Regions from separate parts of the Homo sapiens genome. Here region 2 is linked to region 1. The links are contacts of gene promoters, found by promoter capture Hi-C in human tissues and cell types (Jung and others, 2019). All regions are on one chromosome and are shown on one strand. Each heading gives the region's core, a stretch centred on a gene start or on the middle of the fragment in contact. The rest is flanking DNA. Distances are from core to core; before and after follow the strand shown. Region 1 holds the start of CYP2D6 (cytochrome P450 family 2 subfamily D member 6 (gene/pseudogene)). Region 2 overlaps TCF20 (transcription factor 20).

Region 1 (2,972 bases), core at 1-2,500:
GCCCCGCCCTCGTCCCCATGCTCACACCTCCCTAGTGCAGGTGGTTTCTTGGCCCGCTGTCCCCACTCGCTGGCCTGTTTCATGTCCACGACCCCGCGCCCTCTCTGCCCAGCTCGGACTACGGTCATCACCCACCCGGGTCCCACGGAAATCTGTCTCTGTCCCCACCGCTGCTTGCCTTGGGAACGCGGCCCGAAACCCAGGATCTGGGTGATGGGCACAGGCGGGCGGTCGGCGGTGTCCTCGCCGTGGGTCACCAGCGCCTCGCGCACGGCCGCCAGCCCATTGAGCACGACCACCGGCGTCCAGGCCAGCTGCAGGCTGAACACGTCCCCGAAGCGGCGCCGCAACTGCAGAGGGAGGGTCAGGGCCTCTTGTCAAGCCAGGATCACCCCAGACTACAGGTCCTAGTCCTATTTGAACCTTGGACGACCCCCGGGGCTACCAGGAGTGAGCAGGTGGAAGGAGGAGACCCAGCCTCCTGATCGTGGGGCGGGGGTGGGGGTCACACCTTCTGTGATGGAGGAACTCAGTTTGGATGCGTCACCCAGGTATGACCTTGCAAGAGTCACCAAAATTGCCGAGAGGCCCCAGTTAGCATCCCATTCCCAGATGATGGTCCATGCCGGTGAGCAGTGAGGCCCGAGGACCCACAGTGCAAAAGGTTTGAACCGGGTCACTGCACCCCCTTCATCCTCGATTTCGTGATTTAAACGGCACTCAGGACTAACTCATCTTCCATTCCCAAGGCCTTTCCTTCTGGTGTCAGCAGAAGGGACTTTGTACTCCATAACATATGTTGCCCAATGGGCTTGCATGCCCACTGCCAAGTCCAGCTCCACCTCCAGGCCCTTGCCCTACTCTTCCTTGGCCTTTGGAAAATCCAGTCCTTCATGCCATGTATAAATGCCCTTCTCCAGGACGTCCCCCAAACCTGCTTCCCCTTCTCAGCCTGGCTTCTGGTCCAGCCTGTGGTTTCACCCACCATCCATGTTTGCTTCTGGTAGGGGAGCCTCAGCACCTCTGCCGCCCTCCAGGACCTCCTCCCTCACCTGGTCGAAGCAGTATGGTGTGTTCTGGAAGTCCACATGCAGCAGGTTGCCCAGCCCGGGCAGTGGCAGGGGGCCTGGTGGGTAGCGTGCAGCCCAGCGTTGGCGCCGGTGCATCAGGTCCACCAGGAGCAGGAAGATGGCCACTATCACGGCCAGGGGCACCAGTGCTTCTAGCCCCATACCTGCCTCACTACCAAATGGGCTCCTCTGGACACACCTGGCACCCCCACCCCACCAGGCACAGAGGACCAGGCAGGACACTCTCAGCACACCGAGCGCGTGACCCTTCCCTTATAAAGGGAGCTGATGATGGCCTTTGCCCTCTGCTGTGAGTGAACCTGCTGTGTTGACTGTGCTGCCAGTGGCAGAGTCAGGCCAGGGCGGGTATGGGCTGCTCCAGAGGTTCTTGCCCCTGCTTCCTGCTCCAGGCCCTTACCCAGGGTAGGCCGGTGGAGGGGCCTGGTCGGAGAAGTCACCCCCTCTCCCCACTCCAAGCTCCTGAAGCCTGCAAAGCCTTCTGGGATAACCAGGGTTTCAGTGGACCCGGCCATCCACCTCCCAGCTAGGCTCATACACCCTAATGTAGTCACAACCCCTCCTCCAGAACATGGCCTTGCCCTTTCCCTACCCCCACCTGCCCACTCCAGAGTGACCTTCAGCACCCTTATCTGTCACTGGCACTTACCTGGGGCCTTAGAGCTCCTGATGATGAGTGGCATCATGGGCCTGGTCCCTTCACTTCACCTTGCACTCTTGACATGCACAGACGCTATGCACACACCTGATGGTGCACAGATCTCTTGTCCACTCCCAGACACTTGTCCACTTGTTCACACTTGCAGGGACACGATTACACACGCAGAAAATCACCCACACAAAGACAATATTCACACATACACAGACTCACACTGACACTTAGGGCACACATTCTCTCTCACACACACCAGTCACACACACATACAGACCCGGCACCAAGTACCCCACTTCCCAGCCATGCCGGAGGTTTCCTGGATGGGACCACTCCTGTCCAGAGGCTGCTCCCAGCCCAGCCCACATTCCTGGGCTCTGGCCGGGCTATGGCTTCTTGTTTGCAACAGGGCTGTTCCCAGAGCTCCCAGTTGGTAGCCGGAAGGCCCTTGCCCCAGCCTGTGACAACATCCTCCCGGGCTGCCTGAGGGTCGTCCTCCTCCACTGCTTTCTGGCCTCCATGTTTCTGATTAGAAATCTGGTGGGAACGTTATGGAGGATCCTTTGTTCAGGATATGTTGCTTTATTTTTTTTTTCTTTAGACAGGGTCTCACTCTGTTGCCCAGGCCGGAGTGCAGTGGCAGGATCATGGCTCACTGCAGTCTCGACATCAAGTGGACCCCCTGCCTCCCAAGTAGCTGGGACTACAGGCACCACCCAGCCTAATTCTTTTTTTTTTTTTTTTTTTTTTGGAGACGGAGATTTCCTCTTGTTGCCCAGGCTGGTGGCTCCCCTCCATTGTGCAATGATGCAATCTCGGCTCACTACAACCTTCACCTCTAGGCTTCAAGCAATTCTCCTGCCTCAGCCTCCTAAGTAGCTGGGATTACAGGTGTGTGCCACCACGTCTAGCTTTTTGTATTTTCAGTAGAGATAGGGTTTCACCATGTTGGCCAGGCTAGTCTTGAACTCCTGACTTCAGGTGATCCACCCACCTCAGGCTCCCAAAGTGCTGGGATTATAGGCATGAGCCACCGCACCCAATCCCAGCTAATTTTGTATTTTTTGTAGAGACCGGGTTCTTCCAAGTTGTCCAGGCTGGTCTTGAATTCCTGGGGTGAAGCGATCCTCCCACCTGGGCCTCCCAAAGTGCTGGGATTACAGGCCTGAGCCACTGTGACTACCTGATACGTCTCTTCTCTCTTGCTGCTTTCAAAATCCTGTCTTTTGTGG
Region 2 (2,972 bases), core at 193-2,692, 120 kb after region 1:
CAGGAGAATCACCTGAGGTCAGGAGTTTGAGACCAGCCTGACCAACATGGAGAAACCCTGTCTCTACTAAAAATACAAAATTAGCCGGGTGTAGTGGCGCATGCCTGTAATCTCAGCTACTTGGGAGGCTGAGGCAGGAAAATCGCTTGAACCCGGGAGGCGGAGGTTGCGGTGAGCTGAGATCGTGCCATTGCACTCCAGCCTGGGCAACAAGAGCAAAACTCCCTTTCAAAAAAAAAAAAAAAAAAAAAAAGTAACTGAAGCTTCCACAGCATATTCCTTTGAGAGCTGGCAGCGAAATTTTATTTACTGATTCACTCAAAAATATCTGCTAAGCATTAGCTACATATCAAGCACTGTTCTAGATGCTGGGAATATGATGGGCAACAGACAAGTCCTTGCCCTCACACAGCAGACTATTCTCCCAGGTAGATCCCAGGATGGTACTTCCCAGCTCCACTCCACTTTCTTTTTCTTTGTTTCTATAATCCAAAACTAAACTCTTCCTCTTCAAATGGCCACAAACTTATCCTGCAAGTTATATTCCAGCTCATTTAAATTAAACATTCACACAGGGTACAGGTTAAGGGCACAGAGTCCAGAGCCAGGGTGCCTGTGGTATCATGATATATACTGGGTATTGTCCAGCCCTTGTAACAGTGTTTTGTTATAATATTGGGTATGTTAAGGCCTGGGGAAACAATCTCTCACCTGTCCTCCATTCACCTGCCCTAAGGCAGGACTCTAATCCTTTCCCACCTCTCAGACTGTGGCTCTTAAGACCCTCCTCAGAGGGCGTCCAGCCCTATACCCTGGGAGAAGAAATTGACATCAGGAAACTTCCATAAAAATCCAAAAGGAGCTGGTCCCAGCACTTTGAGAGGCCGTGACAGGCAGATCACAGGGTCAGCAGATCGAGAATATCTTCACCAACACAGTGAAACCCCGTCTCTACTAAAAATACAAAAATTAGCCGCGGGTGGAGGCGGGCGCCTGTAGTCCCAAATACTCTGGAGGCTGAGGCAGGAGAATGGCGTGAACCTGGGAGGCAGAGCTTGAGAAGAGATGGCACCACTGCACTCCAGCCTGGGTGACACAGCAAGACTCCGTCTCAAAAAAAAAAAAAAAAAAAAGGTAGAGGAAAAACATGATTAGAGGTGAGAGTTTTTCCCAATTCCCAATCCTGGCTCTGCTACTTAATAGTTGGGTGACCTTGGGCAAGTCACTCAACCTCCGTTATTCAGTTTTCTCGTTTGAAAAACAGAGGTAATAACACTATCTCCTAACTTTTTTGTCAAATGTTTAGAACAAGTCCTGGCCCTTGGAATTTATTGTTTATATAAAAATATTCACAATGTTGGCTGGGCATGGTGCTCATGCCTGTAATCCCAGCACTTTGGGAGGCCAAGGCGGGCGGATCACGAGGTCAGGAAATCGAGACCATCTTGACCAACATGGTAAAACCCCGTCTCTACTAAAAATACCAAAAAAAAGTAGCCGGGCTTGGTGGTGCGTGCCTGTAGTCCCAGCTAGTTGGGAGGCTAAGGCAGGGGCATCACTTGAACCCGGGAGGAGGAGACTGCCATGAGCTGAGATCGCGCCACTGCACTCCAACCTGGCAACAGAGTGAGACTTCATCTCAAACAACAACAACAACAACAACAACAACAACAACAACAACAAAACCACATTATTTATTGTTATAAATGTTTGGGTAAATAAAATATGCTTGCCGACCTGTTTTGGAATCAACATGGGTTGATGCCAAAATTTCCTGTAAATCCATTTTATTTAAACCAATTGCTAAATTTTACAGATCCTTCTTATGCAGACTAGGGCTTTGGGCATGAGAAAATCAGAACAGTAAGAGGCCAAGATGATCAATTCATCATCTGTTTCCGGCCCTCCCCTCTCCTTCCCACCACCATCTCTCCTCAGTCAGAACAACGCCCCCAACCATGTATTCACACCTCTCTTCACAAAACTTTGTTCCATTTATGAGACTCAAGTGCCCCAGCCCCAGGTTCAAAGCTATTCCCACCTTGCTCTCATACTATTAGGCCCACGCTCCCTTCTGACCTTCCCCTCTGTCATCTCTAGGCCCTTAGCCTAAGGGCCCAGGGTTTGATTGATAATATGCTACATACTTTTGAGCCTTGGTTCCCAAAAGACCTCTCTTAGGAATGCTCTTTCTCCACTCTTCCACTTGTCTCTCTCTCTCGTCCATCCTTCAAGGTCTACCCAAATGCTCCCTCCTCTACCGGCTTCTCCAATATTCTTCCCATACTTGATCAGGAGGGAGCAGCCTCTTGCCTAGTTCTCCCCAGCACTCCAGCTACACCACTATTACAGCCTTATCAATCATTCATACGTTTGATAAATGTTAATTTTCCATATTGGACTCTCCCACAGACCCTGAACTCTAAGGAAAAGTGAAGTGTTTTATTTGATTTTTGTGTGTGTGTGCCTAGCATGGCAACTACTTAGCAAACTTGGCTGAACAGAAATTTTCTTTTTTCTTTTATTTTCTCTGATGTGTTTCATTCCCATAGGCTTCATTTGGCCTGTGTCCCTTATCTTTAGGGGAAGCCAACTTTCAGCACATGCGCTAGCCAATGTAGCAAAGTTTTTTTTTTTTTTTTAAAGAGACATTTAACAAATTATGCAGGCTGTGATGTCCTTCATTCCAGCTCAAATTTCTCCTACTGAATATGCTAGAACTTAAATCCACTTCCACGAAGACTTTCAACAAGAGAAGATGAAAATCCTATTCCTGCTATATTTAAACTCACATCTACTAGAAAAACAAAAAACAAAAAACAAAAAAGTAGCATTAAGTTCAATGCATAGTGTATCTTTTCATTTACATCTGTTTAGTAATGTACAGGTACTGGTAAATCTGTTTAGGTTCATTTACACTGACTGTATGTTGTGTTTATAGGAGTCATCTGGCTGGAATCTGGCAGGCATGT

Evidence for each region. Contacts are between HindIII fragments. The study calls those that stand out against the background at their distance.
Region 2: a fragment that was not itself captured here is called in contact with the fragment with the promoter of CYP2D6 in region 1 in 5 of the 25 tissues and cell types used here (IMR-90 fibroblasts, dorsolateral prefrontal cortex, hippocampus and 2 more).

Annotation. Positions count from the first base shown.
Region 1 is chr22:42,129,560-42,132,531 of GRCh38, forward strand. It overlaps CYP2D6 (cytochrome P450 family 2 subfamily D member 6 (gene/pseudogene)), which reads right to left and starts at 1,251. Exons shown (of 9, transcript NM_000106.6): 1 at 1,053-1,251; 2 at 179-350. The coding sequence starts at 1,232. RefSeq lists promoters at 1,257-1,723, 1,310-2,842 and a cis regulatory region at 2,536-2,547. The HindIII fragment of the contact is 22,528 bases long and covers 1-2,972 here.
Region 2 is chr22:42,253,847-42,256,818 of GRCh38, forward strand. The region is part of intron 1 of TCF20 (transcription factor 20); the gene reads right to left. Among named protein-coding and RNA genes, the nearest start is that of TCF20, 15 kb to the right of the region's middle. The HindIII fragment of the contact is 7,259 bases long and covers 1-2,972 here.